Linked DNA regions of Homo sapiens: regions 2, 3 and 4 are each linked to region 1. The links are contacts of gene promoters, found by promoter capture Hi-C in blood cells and fetal thymus (Javierre and others, 2016). All regions are on one chromosome and are shown on one strand. The core of a region is centred on a gene start or on the middle of the fragment in contact, and the rest is flanking DNA. Distances in the headings are between cores, read along the strand shown.

Evidence for each region. Contacts are between HindIII fragments. The CHiCAGO score rates a contact against its expected background, and 5 or more counts as called.
Region 2: a contact is called between a fragment that was not itself captured here and the fragment with the promoter of CD93 in region 1, in 1 of 17 cell types (endothelial precursors). The highest score is 5.9, in endothelial precursors.
Region 3: a fragment that was not itself captured here is called in contact with the fragment with the promoter of CD93 in region 1 in 2 of 17 cell types (neutrophils and monocytes); the score reaches 6.9 in neutrophils.
Region 4: a contact is called between a fragment that was not itself captured here and the fragment with the promoter of CD93 in region 1, in 1 of 17 cell types (neutrophils). The highest score is 7.0, in neutrophils.

Annotation. Positions count from the first base shown.
Region 1 is chr20:23,084,390-23,087,902 of GRCh38, forward strand. It overlaps CD93 (CD93 molecule), which reads right to left and starts at 1,935. Exons shown (of 2, transcript NM_012072.4): 1 at 1-1,935. The coding sequence starts at 1,803. RefSeq lists an enhancer at 1,919-2,098. The HindIII fragment of the contact is 6,182 bases long and covers 1-3,513 here.
Region 2 is chr20:22,788,739-22,792,251 of GRCh38, forward strand. No RefSeq gene overlaps it. Among named protein-coding and RNA genes, the nearest start is that of LINC01747, 110 kb to the left of the region's middle. The HindIII fragment of the contact is 502 bases long and covers 1,400-1,901 here.
Region 3 is chr20:23,367,919-23,371,431 of GRCh38, forward strand. It overlaps GZF1 (GDNF inducible zinc finger protein 1), which reads left to right. Exons shown (of 6, transcript NM_022482.5): 4 at 844-1,011; 5 at 1,666-1,823; 6 at 2,173-3,513. The coding sequence ends at 2,523. Among named protein-coding and RNA genes, the nearest start is that of GZF1, 7.5 kb to the left of the region's middle. The HindIII fragment of the contact is 1,181 bases long and covers 1,104-2,284 here.
Region 4 is chr20:22,822,003-22,825,515 of GRCh38, forward strand. LOC105372568 (a long non-coding RNA gene) reads left to right here. Exons shown (of 3, transcript XR_937351.2): 2 at 1,440-1,687; 3 at 2,183-2,380. Among named protein-coding and RNA genes, the nearest start is that of LINC01747, 140 kb to the left of the region's middle. RefSeq lists an enhancer at 1-342. The HindIII fragment of the contact is 3,374 bases long and covers 186-3,513 here.

The sequences.
Region 1 (3,513 bases), core at 685-3,184:
CAGAGCCAGGGCCAGCAGGAGTAGGATGGCCACCACGGTGCCTAGGATGTAGAATAAAAGCAGCTTTTGCCCGTCAGTGCCATCGTTGTTTTGTGTGGCCACGGAGGAGTCCCCACCTGCAGGCTCCTGGGGGCCAGAGGCAGCTGTGGCGTGATGGATGCTGGGCTCCCTCCAGACGCCTGGGGACCCACTGGGGGCCAGCATCTTGAGTGGGGCAGATGTGATGGGGGCGTCAGATGACAGCGAAGGTCTACTTGTGGTGGGTGTAGCCTTGGGGGTGCCCTCGGGGCCCCTTGTGGGACTGGCTGTTGCAGCACGGGGCACGGTGCTCCCTTCTTTCTCTCCTTTGTCCTCCTCATCGGGGGGCCCAGATGGTGGTCCCAGAGACACAGGCCCCATGGTGCAAGAGACCCCATTTGGGGCCAGCACCCAGCCTGGCAGGCAGCCACAGTGGAAGGACCCTTGTGTGTTGAAGCACAAGCTGTCGCAGAGGGGGCCCCCCGGGCCCACACACTCATCCACGTCCTGGCACTGAGTCCCGTCCTCCCCGGCCAGGACGTAGCCCTCCTCACAGGAGCAGTGAAATGAGCCATCTGTGTTGGTGCAGCCCTGGGCGCAAGGCGAGCGACCCAGAGCACACTCATCCACATCCTGACAGGCCCCCTCTCCAGGACCGCCCGGCTCATAGCCAACCCAGCATTCGCAGCGGAAGCCCCCAGGGGTGTTGACACACTCCTGGGCACAGGGGGAGTCCTGGCATTCATCCACGTCCACACAGTCCAGCTGACTCGAGTCCAGCTGGTACCCTTGGGGGCAGCGGCACGTGTAGTTTTTCCCATGGGGTCCCAGGACGCACGTGGCCCCCCCACGACATGGGCTGGAGCTGCAAGGGTTTCGAGAGGCACAGGTCACCAGGTCATCCAGCAGCCGGAATCCTGGTCGGCAGCCGCAGAGGAAGGAGCCATCCCCCCCTTCAAAGCAGTCCTGGTGGCAGCCCCCATTGTTGAAGTTGCAGCCATACTTGGGGCTGACACAGAGGGGGCCCGAGCTGCCCCAGTCGAACACATCGGGGGCCTTCTCCTTGCACAGGAAATAATGACTCTGAGTCTCGTCCTTGTCACCTTCCCCACAGGCTACATTGGCCGCAGAGGCAAAGGGCACAGCCTCCAAGGAGGAACTGGTGGTCTGGAAGGGGGTGGTGTAGGTCACCTGACCTGGGCCCCCCAGGGCCAGAGGCCGGCACATGCCTTTGAAGCTGAACTTGCACACGAAGCCCTCAATGTTACTTCCGGGGGAGCCTGGGCTCCCACAGGGGCCCTCAGACCACTTGGGGAGGCGGCTGGGAAGGAGCGGCTGGGACAGGTCCAGCAGCAGAGACACACAGCGCTTGGAGATGCACGAGTTCCGGAGCTCCTTGTGCCAGTTAGAGTAAGGCGTGTCCTCCCCCCCGCCCACCCAGCTGAAGCCCTTCAGCGGCAGACTAGGGTCCAGGCACTTGCCCTTCTCTCGCTGGAGCCCAATCCAGAACTTGCTCATCCTCGCCGTCAGGGCTGCCTCCCGCCTCAGGAGCTGGGCCAGTACTCGCTGGACGTGCTGGGCCTCCTCCTTGCTCTTCACAGTGGCCAGGTTGCCCCCGTTCTGGTTGCAGTGGTTCTGGGCCTCGGCAGCGCTCAGCTTGCCCGAGTGGGCCGTGTAGCAGGCGGTCCCCACGCAGACCACCGCCTCCGTGTCAGCTCCCGTCCCCGCCCCGGGCTGGGTCAGGAGCAGCAGCAGCAGCAGCAGCAGGCCCATGGAGGTGGCCATCCCGGTCTCTGTGTGGCCCTCTGCGGGAGGCGAGAAGCCCAGCGGCGACAGGAGCTTCTATCTCGGCTCCCAGCTGGGCCCCAAGGGGAGCTGAGGGGTGAGCTGCAGCCACTCCGGCGCAGAGAAGGACACAAAGGCTGAGGGCTTTCCACGTCCCCCTGACCCAAGGCGCATCCTGTACTGTTGTACTTCTTATTTCTCACCGGATGTTGGGGCTTCCTGCAATGAATAGTTCTCTGACTCCTGCTGCCTTCATCACGGTGCTGTTGTTCATAAAAGGAGTCAGGCAGCTCTGCCGGGTCCCTGGCTCAGCACTGTGGAAACAGCGACGGGGGGAAGACGTTACAGCCCCGAGATACTGCCGGCTTGATTTTGGCTCCATTCTCTTTCTCATGGCATGAGGAGCCTCGGAGGCATGCCATGGAGTGAGCAGGGGCTTTGGGGGCTAGGAACTCGAGGAAGCTCCCTTAGTAACCCATAATAAAATTCCACTTTGGTTTGCAAACCACCAAAAGAGAAAAAAAAAATTCTGAGACTTAAGACACAAGGCCATGGATGGTTATAATTTTCAGCCTTTTTTAGAAGCAAACTGGACTTTCCTTTTGCCTAGCTCATGTTCTCTGTTGACTTTGGGAGCCTTTTTTCTTTTATCCTCCCATCGTGAACCTTAAATAGACAGGCATTTTTTAAATAGGATACGGGTCGTGGGAATGTCTGGGTTTTCAACATAATGCCAAGCTCCTCGATAATGTTAATCCAAATTGGGTGAAATTTGGCAGTTCTGGGGGTTTCATAGTGGAAATATTGCATTGTGAGGTGTCAGGGTCACAAAAAGCATCAGAAAGAAAATGAAAATGTGTCCGGCCTCGTGGCGCAGGGCTTGCAGGCTCACTTCCCCCGGCTCAGGATTCCTAGCAAGGGCCGGAAATCTGGGCAGGGAGCGGGAATCGAAGCCCGGGCAGGCCCTCCCGCGACACCGCGACTCGGCAAAAGCCAGGGACTCACAGTGTGCTTTTCCTGCAGCCACAGACCTTTGCTCATTGGTTGGGATCCCCCAGGAGGGGACCCTGAGACAGGATTTGGGGAGACTAGTTTATGTGGGAGGGGAAGTGAAACAGACAAGGAGGAAGCCAACCCATGATGACTTGCTGAGAAGGTGACCCTGGGCTGCTGGAGCCAGTGCCAGGAAACTCTGGGGGCCTGAGGGGACCACACCTCAGCACCATCTCAGCTGAGGGAGAGGCTCCACTGCTCTCCAAGTCCCCTGTCATTGGTAGCAGGCTGTATCTCTCACTTTGAGAGACTGACTATAAATTCTAGCCCTGCCCAGTGACCAGGGGTCTCTCTCACATAAAACTTGTTTCTATGGACAGACACCCTTGTGGCTCTCGTCTGACCCATGTCCAGTTTATTCCTATCAAGACAGCCACTTCCTAAGAGATCCCTGATGGGAGGAGAGTTGGGTTGGGGTGTGGGTCAGGGGAGATGCAGGAGGCAGCACAAGAAGACACAGGAAGCAACACAAGCACCGTGTCACTTACAGATCCCAGGGAGAGGGCAGTGCACCCCACGGGGCCAGCAAAAAGTGGGGAGCTGTCTGGGTCACAAACACTCACCTGGAGGGGGGTGAAGGGAGAGAGAGAGACCTGGGTCCTAAGCCTTTATTGGGGTCCAGGACGTTTCCCAAGCAGGTTTCCCAAGGGGACTTCT
Region 2 (3,513 bases), core at 401-2,900, 300 kb before region 1:
ATAGGTGAATAAGTAGATTGCAATACATTGCTATGGAATACTGGGCTTCTAACAAAAATAATCTTATAGGAGAACATTTATTGACAAGGGAATTATCATGGTAAATTTATAAAGAAAAACAAGCTACAAAACAATGTAATAGTGTGGCAACATTTTAGTAATGTTCTATATTTGCATAAACAGTCATGTGCCACATAGTGACATTTGATTGACAGATTGCATATATGATGTTGTTCCTGGAAAATTGTAATGAAGTTGAGAGATTACTATTGCCTACTGCTTTGTGTTACAGTTGCCTACAGTATTCAGTACAGTAACAGGCTATACAGGTTTGCAGCCTAAGAGCATGGGTCATAACATATGGCGTAGATATGTGGTAGGCTATGCTATCTAAGTTTGTATAAGTATATGGTATGATATTTTCAAAAGGAGAAACTTACCAAACAACCCATTTCTCAGAATGTATTTCTATAGATTAGTGAGGTATGCCTGAATATGAAAGTCATACATTGACGTGTTAACCCAAGTCTTCTTGGAGCAATGAGATTATAAGAGATTTTTGTTTTTGTTTTTTTAGTCTGAGCTATTCTATTTCTCAAGTTTAATGCATTCAACATAAATTAGAAAAGCATTGGTAAAACAACACATGCCAAATGACATGGCTTTTTTTGTGAATTTCAAAGTTCCACATTAACAGTTTTGGCAGGTGGCCTCTGGTGGAACTAGTTCCCCGCTCCTGGTCTAACAGCCTCAATGGAAGGGACAAACTCACAATCAGAACTTTCCCTACCCCTATCCTTTGCTCTTTTGCATATTTCTCAGTGATGCAGAACTCTCTTCTCTCCAAGTTCGCTGCTGCACTGACACATGCCTCACGTCCACTGACCGAGAGCCGAAGGAAACACAGCAGCACCATTTCCAGGTGGACTTTTCCCTTCCCTGGCAGAAGAATTCAGTCACACCATGGATTTCCAGGGCTACTTGAATTACCCAGATTGGTATTTATTTGCTTAGGGTTTATATCTCTGGTCTCCACATGTCCTTCCCAGTAGGAAACTGCTCAGATAATCACACAGCTGTGAAGACTTCTCCCCAAAGGTCATAAGCTTTGGTCCCACCATCTGTGGGGAAACATGTGTTTCTCGTACTCTGAAAGGACTGTTCTTGGCTTTAAATTCCAGTACTTAGCACTTGTAAAATTGAGATAAAGCACATTGGCAGCTTTGGGACTTCTGTGAGCCAACCACTAAGAATGGACTTTGGGAGGCTACACCGCTACATCCATTCTAGAGTTGCATTTGGTATTTCCTCTAAAAGGGCTTCACCACTCACCTGGGGGCTCTGAGGCATTTGAGCACTTCAGCTCAGTTTTTCAGCCCTGAGGTGAGACAGGAAAGCAAGCTTGCCCAAAGGATACAGGGAAGTCTGAGACCAGGCCCAGATTCAGAACCACAGGCTGAGGAGCTTGTTACTTGGGCTGAGCCGTCCTGCTCCCATAGCTGGGTGCACCCAAAAACTTCAAATGTGTGCCTCAAAATGAAGGCAGCATGCCAATGATTGGCAGTGCATCCAATTCACTCTTCAATTCCACATTTGGACTCAGTGCTTAGGGGATGGGGCTTTAAAGTGTATGTTTTTGGGAATATTATATACATGCAATAAAATGCCCTATTCTTTGGTGTTTGACTTGATGAGTTTTGTCAGTTTTATATACCTGTGTATAATCACCACTCTGTATGAGACACAGAACATTATATCATCCAAGACGGTTTCCTGTGCCTCTGCCCAGTCAAGCATCCACTGTCCCAACCCAAGGCAACCATGGTCTGACTTCAAGCACCAAAAGATTATGTTTTTCATTTCTACAACTTCATGTGAATGGATTCATACAGTATGTGCTAAGCTTCTTTCACTCAATGTGTCTCTAATATTTATGTATGTTGTATGCATCAGTAGTTATTTTTTATGGTTGAGTAGGAGTTCATGAGTATATTCACTTGAGAGATGTTTGGATGGCTTGTCCTTTGAGTTGGTTACAAACAAGTCTACCATGAGAATTTTGGTGCAAGAGTTCTTGCAGATATATGCTTTTGTTTCTCTTGGGTAAATGTCTAATAGTGGAATTACTGGGTTGATGTGGACTCAACTGTAGAAGAAACCAAATGAGTTGCTTTTGAAAATTATCATTTCTGGTAGACTCATAGCCTCTCATAGCTGAACGAAAATTTTGCTCCTTGGCCATTTGGTCCAACCTCGTCATTTAAGATAAGGACAACTGAGATGCCAAGGAGTCATCACTCTTTCATGGCTGTAGATCTAATAAGTAGCTGAGGAAGAGCTGGACCCAGCCTTTCTGACCTCATACTTCCTTACCAAGGAGCATTAGAAAACCCTACTTATTCCTGCTTGTGAGGTAAGAGTTATTTCTAAATGCAAATATTTGTTTTCTTGCTTTTATTCACATAGTGAAGAAAATTGAATCCATGGTGACCTTATTGAATCCACACAGAACCTTATTATACATTGATTCATAAGGTGTTATTGTATCATAGCTATAGACAGCTGTGGAGATTAGGGTAAGTCTACACTGTCTTGAGAACATGTCTTAGAATTTAAGTTTTCTCCAAATACGTAGTATTGATTCGGCTTTACCTTTTGCTAAGAAAATGAATGTTGGTAACTTCTCACATAGTAATAATAATTCCATTTCCAAGAACATCTCCTAAGAACATAAATATAGATGTGCAGGAGATATATGCGAGGGTCAGAAATGCTGAGGAGCAGGGCATGACTCACTGCACTAGCTCATGCCGACAGGCCAAGAAGGTGACAACAGGGCCCTGGCTGTGGATTTAGTAGCATGGATGTCATCAGCAAAAGACTAATTTGTCTCCAGTGTCTAAAACAGTGCCTGGAGCTCCAGAAGTAGGACATGATTGATTGAGTGGCAGGGGCATCTCAAGTTGACTCGAATATCCTTTGTTTGAGCATACTCAAGAGAAAATGGGAAGATAAAGTGAGATTTCTTTTAAAGGACAGCAAGGAAATGAGGTGGCACTTGTAGGGGAATATAGGGCTAAGACAGGGTTTTCTCAAGATAAGAGAAATCACCAGATGTTTGCATGATGTTGGGAGTGATCCAGTAGAAAGAAAAAAGTAAAAATATTCTACCAATAACCATAACAAATGACCAAACATATTGTTGCTAAGGCAATGATATCTTGACTGATGCAGGGAAAAAAGTAACCTCAACAGGTCAAGTCCCAAGTGTGAGCCTGTCACCAGCATGCAGTGGGAAGTACAGTTTCTGGAACTCTGAGCCTAATTCTGCCTCCAAGTTGTTGTTGGTGGTGGATGAGTCATTTTGCATTGTCATCTCCCTTTCCTTACCTGTGCAAAGAAGGGTTGAAATCAGACTCCCCCACTCGCACACCTCATGATAACTTCCTGAGGGCTGCCACAGGCCGTCAGCTTCTCTCTCTTTGTGTGCAAGCCAGACCCTTAGTAATGCAA
Region 3 (3,513 bases), core at 444-2,943, 280 kb after region 1:
CCTCAAGTTCAAATGCATGTGAGACAGAGATGACATGTCTCTGACTCATTAGACACCACATCTGTGTGATTAGACACCAGTTCTGCTCATTCTGAAGTCATAATTCATGTCATTGAATGAAAATCTCATTTAATGTCATGAAATTAGCATTTAATGACATGCATTATGACTACAGAATGAGTAGAATTGTTTAAAGAAAGCTTGGGATTGGGGACAAGGTCAGGTTATAATGAAGGATTAAGTTAGAATTGGTCCTTTGATAATATTAACATGGTAAGATTTTATTAAAGTCACTATTTTTATTTTGATGTCTGTGAAATCGGGCACAGCTAATAATTTGGTAAGTCTGATTTGTGGGATTAAACTACAAAAAGTGAGATATTTAAAACTCTTGTCCTACAATTCAATCAAGTTGATTGGAGTTGCTACTCTAGAATAGTGATATATATCCATTGTCAACTTCCCCTTTATTCTGATAAAGATCCATAGAAGTGTTCCTTTGAAAATAATCCAGCAGTTCCTCCAAACAGAAGTTGTGAAATTATTTTCTTGTTTGGAATGAGTAAATTTCTAAAATGTGAGCCAGCTGAACAAACAATACCTCTTTGATTCTAGTCAAATGGAATTTTTCTTGCAATTTCCAAGGATATTTTACACCAACTTTCAGTAAGTAGCAAGCATCTTACATGAATATATATTTTATGATAGTTTTTACTGGAAAATGTAACATGCTGCCTACCAAGGCACTTTTGAGTTCACGTGGGTTTTAACAGTGGAGACCTACTGTTCCATGTGTTTTTAATGCCTGTATTGTTTATGACTTTATTTCATTTTCTCATGTAGGTGAAAGACCTTTTATGTGTGAAACATGTGGCAAGAGTTTTGCTTCTAAGGAGTACTTAAAACACCACAATAGAATCCATACTGGATCCAAACCCTTTAAATGTGAAGTATGTTTCAGGACTTTTGCCCAGCGGAATTCACTGTACCAGCATATTAAAGTCCACACAGGTATGGTTGGAATGTCCCAGGGAAGGGAGTTTAGTTTGGCCAAAAAAAAAATTCTAAAGCTTGTAGATTTACCAGTAAATTACTTGGAACTAAGCTTTTGAAGAAAACTGGCCAAACTTTGTATGTCATAATAGCATTTCTTTAGAGATTGTTTCTAACTCTGAGAAACTGAAAAGTGGGAGCACTTATGTGTGTAAACGGGAGAAGACTAAGTCCCTTTGCTACATGGAGTTTTTACTGAAAAGGACAGACAGCTTAGTCATGGTGTGAATGTAGGAAGTGGATGTGGATGTGTGGACATAGGGATAATGATCTGTACATGTTAGTAAATGCACATGCACACATGCATATTCAGTTGTTAGGGGTCTTGTAATTTTATACTCCATTACCATGGAAAACAGGTGTCATTCCTATAGTTATAATACCTGCTGCAGGCACATGTCCTGGCCCCTTTTTGGTGTAGGCCATAAATTCTTGGTATTATAGAGATAGTGGATTTGTAGCCCTTAAGTTGTTCCCAACATAACCTTCCTTATGTTGGATGCTGAGGCTTCCCAGTGGTTTGCAACAGCATCATTCACTCAAGTGTGTATTCAGAATTAAGCACAGTAGGCCAAAGGGACCCACCAGCAGTCTCCTCTCTCCCTGCCTCAGGGGAGCGTCCCTACTGCTGTGACCAGTGCGGCAAGCAGTTCACCCAGCTCAACGCCCTCCAGCGCCACCGCCGCATCCACACAGGGGAGAGGCCATTCATGTGCAATGCGTGCGGACGGACATTCACCGACAAGTCCACTCTTCGGCGGCACACCTCAGTAAGCAGTGGGTTGGCTTATTTGAGAAACAAGCTGCTGCCCTTAGATGCACGGAAAGAGAAATACCTACCACCATTCTCCAAGGTGGTTAGAGGTCGAGACAACAGGTACTTTCTCCTTGGGTTGTCTCTGCAGTGGAACGCTCACGGAATGAATGAAGTGGAACACCAAGCCCCAAGGCCCAGGGAAAGCACCATCCACGATGACTACTCTGTAACAGTGAGGGTGGTGGCAGGCGGGTACTTATTAGTGAAAGTTGAAAATTGAAGTTGTAGAGGGACTATTGTTTTAAAAGATGCACTTGTCCAGAGACACATTCAGTGACCTTTGTTTTGTGTTTAACTTATAGATACACGATAAGAATACTCCATGGAAGTCTTTCCTTGTCATTGTAGATGGCTCGCCCAAGAACGATGACGGACACAAGACTGAACAGCCTGACGAAGAGTATGTGTCATCCAAGCTTTCGGATAAATTGCTGTCTTTTGCAGAAAATGGCCATTTCCACAACCTGGCTGCAGTCCAAGACACTGTACCTACCATGCAGGAGAACAGTTCTGCTGACACAGCCTGCAAGGCAGATGACTCCGTGGTGTCCCAGGACACCCTCCTGGCCACCACCATCAGTGAGCTTAGCGAGCTGACCCCACAGACAGACTCGATGCCCACACAGCTTCACTCTTTGAGCAACATGGAATAAGAGCTTCAAGCAGTTCCCATCCTGTTAGTCTGCGTGTGTGGTAGCTGAACTCAAGATGATGTGGGGCTAAGAAAAATAATTGTCCATGTGCAAAGATGTGGGCAAGAATGGCCTCTGCAGATTTTCCTGAACTTCTGCTAACTTGCACGGCTTTATCACAGCATTTTTAAAGCTTTCCCTCAAAAATCCTGATCTGCATGATCTCAGCTACTTTATTGACAAAAAGGCAGTGAACATAACCTCACTTAATTCTGGTGTAGGGTGTATGTGCTAATCGTTCTAATTCTTGATTACCTAGTTTATAGATAACTGCTGGTCTTAATTGCAGAGTACAGAGAACTGAACCAGCTCCTGATATTGTAGTTAGCAGTCTTCCTGGCTTCTCACTCTGCCTTATATTTCCATGTGGGTTTACTTCTCTCATAACTACTTTCAAGGTATTTTTCTTCCAAGCTGAAATAAAACTGGGGCCACATATTTTCAGTCATTTCTTCCCTGTTGAATTGAAGCAAATCAGATTTTCTGTGGGGACCCTCAAATGCAACTGAAGAAATAGATTGTTGCATTCATTCCTCCCCACCCCCCATTTGTAGGCAGTAAACAAAGTATGACTGACAGATTGAACACCTGCAAAACTGCTAGCGTAATCTCAGCACATACGCAGCTAGGAAGTTTGTCATAAAATCAACTTAGAAATGAGATGAGGCTGTTCAGTTTGTCTTAAAAAAATCAGATTAGGTAAAAGCTGTCCTACCAAAGAGTCTAGCAAAACAATATAGTATTTTTTTGCAGAGGCATGAAAAATTAAGACGCTTTAGAGTACTTGAAAGTTGTGTAGTCATTTTATTTGCAAAATGAGGTGACTGTGGCAAATTATAGAACACAGAGTATTATTACTTTTGCCAGGTTTTTCTGACTTGATTTCTGTAATTTCCAGAAACCCAGACTTCTCATTTCCACACCTAGAGATGGAAACAGGCAAGTAACTGA
Region 4 (3,513 bases), core at 623-3,122, 260 kb before region 1:
CTTGGAGGGAAAGAAAAGACTAGATTGCATGATATAGACAATGTGAGTTTGACTTCACTGATCCCTGGAGGCTGGAAATTTTCCCTCTGGCAAGCAAGGTTAGGTCTAAAGGCTAAAACTCCCACAGTACCAGAACCAGGAGGCTGCCGGCTGCAGACAGCCCAGGAGCCCGGGGCATGGGAGAAAGCTTTCTGATTCATGAAGCATGAGATTTCATTAGGCTCATTGGAGTTACAGCCCGCCATGGTGGGTCCATGTCTGCCCTGTGGCCTGGCCCCACCATTCCAACAGGCGGCTACCAGCCTGCTGGAAGCCCAAGTGGAGTTCTGGTCAGCAGCACTGAAGGCTCCCAGGAAGGATGGGCGCTGGCAGGGCGTGGGACAGACCCAGTGTGGCCGGACATCCTGGGCCCAGTGAGGAAGGGAGGGGCTCCACTAGCAGTCTCACAATGACATGGGGCAGGGGTGAGGAAGGGGGAGAAGGGAGCTATTCTTTTATGCAAGTAGGTGGCATGTGGGCAGCCAGCAGAAACACAGGCAGGTGGGCTAGGGGAGACCAGGACAACGGGGGCATATATCAAGGTGTCCTAATCGAAGGGGACATGAGGTTGGGGGCCATAGGCCAGGGCTATGCCAGGTCCTCTCAGAGACCCTGACTAGAGCAGGCCCAGGACCAGGCAGGTAAAATTCAAAGGGATGAAAAAAAAAATGTGGGTCTCTGTATCCAGAGCTGGTCTCAGGTCAAGAAGAGGGCAAGGCCACCAGCCGCCCAGACTTACAGAACAGTTACAGGAAGAACACAGAGAGTTCCCAGATACCTTTCACTTGGAGACCCCAAATGTGAGCATTTTTACTCTCTGCTCTCTCTCTCTTTCCTCCCCTTTACGCCTAAAGACTTCAGTGTGTGTAAAAACAAGAACATTCTCTCACTTAACTACAAAAATTATCAAAATCAGAAAATTAAGGCCAATACAAACCTATTATCTAATCTACAGACCTTATTCAGATTTCACTGACTGCACCAGTAAAGTCCCTGGTGGAGGCGAAAGAAGCCGCAAGGTCATGTTGCACTTTGCTGACCTCTCCCTGGCCTCCCTTCACCTGGAGAACCCCTACCTTCCTTTATATTCCATGGCCCGGACATTTGACCACTCCAGGTTAGGTTCGTAGCGCGACCCTCAGTTTGGGCGGGCTGTTTTTAAATGTGCATCACAGGCAAATCCTCACTCCCTTTGCCAAAAGAAGCTGCCCTATTAAGCATGTGTCTTATTTAAATCTCAAGATGCTAGTTCTGTTTTGATAGATCAATAGGAACCACATTTGTTGGCAGGCCTGCTGTTCTGCGATTCATGTTTGTTAAAGCAACAGCAGCCTTTTCTCCCCTTTCTCTCTCTACTCAGAGAAGTGTTCTCTTTTTCTTGCCTTTGTCCCTCCATTCAGGCTGCTTGGGTGTGAAGACCCATGTCATCAGCAAAAGTGGGATCCCAGAGCCTACCTGCCATTCCCAGCAACAAGGATCATTCTGAATGATAATTAAGAATGTATTTTCCAACATGGAAGAATATCAGGCCTTCAGTAAGCGTGACTTGACAGCCCCCAGGGCGGCCCAGGTCTGAGAGCTGACAGTCATCAGAACCCCAGCACCACAGGGAGCTAAGATCACAGAGAAACCCTCAGAGCCGTGCATCGTAAGTAACGTGACCTCTGAAGCAATCAAGGAGTTGGTGCAAATCTGGTTTGCATTGCTGTGAGGGGGCTGGAGAATAAGTCAATGGGTAAAAATATTAGTCTGAATCACCAGCCCTTTTTACATAGGCCTTAGATTTGAGGTCAGCTTGAGCCTAAAATGTAAGCTCATTGGGCTTCATCCCTCGAGCCCTTCCTCTTCCTCCCTGGCTCATCCACCTCCTCAGTTCAAATCCATGAAACACAATTCAGTTCCAGCAATATGTGTTGAAGACACTTCGGTGCTGGGCTGGGCCAGGTGGTGCCTGCCTACGGCACAGCAATACCTCCAGCCTCAAAGCCACTGCACCACATGCATCTCTTCTCCTGTAGCTGCCCAATGCATTTATGTGTAGGTCCTTTTCCCCCAGGCTTCTGCTTCCTGATAAAGGAGAGGAAGAGGCCAGTCGAGTTGTATTCTGGAAATACTTTGCCTTTGTTCTTCTCCTTCCTGGTAGCTTCTTGAATCAATCCCTTCGCTTTCTTCCACCAAGCCAGAAAGCAGCCTCAGACTCTGAGCAGCCACTTCCAGTCCCTTGGGGCAGACACCCACGCAGAAGCCTGCTTGCATTTCTGTCCTGGGAGTGGAGAGAAGAGAGCCCTGTGGCTGTGTAGCCTGGCAAGGCTTTGTGGAAGAGGGGGCCCAACTTCACCTTAAAGAATGGGTGAGTTTGAGGGGCTCTCACAGAAATGGGAGGGGACTGGTATGGGTGACCTTGATTTGGGTCCACACAGACATCTCTTGGAGCCAACTATATGCTTTGAGCCAACTATAATGCTTCTTTTTTCTCTTCCTCCTTTAAGACACCTGGGTATACAGTGATTACAGGTTTAGTGGTAGGAGACTAAATTCTTTGCAACCTGGATTTCTATGTTCAACCTTGCAGCAGAATCTTTGCAGGTCAGAAAGAAAGGAAATAGCGGATGCTGCCTGGCGCTGTCCACATCCCTCAAATTCTCAGAGGTAACCTGAGACATCCCTGTACATGCCAAAGGTGTTCTCTGGCCTCCACGTGGATGGGCCACAAGTGACTGGGGACCTACCCCCACCTCCTGTAACAGTGCTCAAACAATGAGGATGGGTGAGACCCTGACTTCCTCACCCCTCCTTTTGGTGGGACAACTCTAAGTCATGGCATCTGCACAGCCACTCTGTAGCCTCAGGTGACCATGGAAGTAGCAGCTCATCCACCCCATTTTATTTATTTATTTTTATTTTTATTTTTTTTAAATTTTAGATTCAGGGAGTACACGTCCTTGTTTGTTACATGGGTATTACAGGTGTAATGGTGGAGGTTTGGTTTCTAGTGTATCCATTAACCAAATATTGAACATTGTACCCAAAAGGTAATTTTTCAACCCCCACTTCCTTCCCAGCCTCTCCACTTTTGGAGTCCTCATAGTTTTATCTCTCCATTTCTATGTCCATGTGTACCCATTCTTTAGCTCCCATTTATAAGTAAGAATATGCGATATTCTGCTTCTGAATTAGTTCACTTAGTGAGCAAAGCTGGATGGCCTCCAGCTGCATCCATGTTGCTACACAGGACATGATTCAATTCTTTGTTATGGCTGCATAGCATTGCGTATTCTATATGTACAACATTTTCTTTGTCCAGTTAACTGTTCATCGACCCTATTTTGTTAGCATTCCTCCCTTCTCTGTCTCCTTCCTCCACTCCCTCAGGGTGCTCCTGGGTCACCTTTCAAGTATATTCCCTGCCCCCAGTGCTAGCCTCAGGCTTCACTCTTTGGGAACACACTAAGACCACAGTGCATTTGACTATGA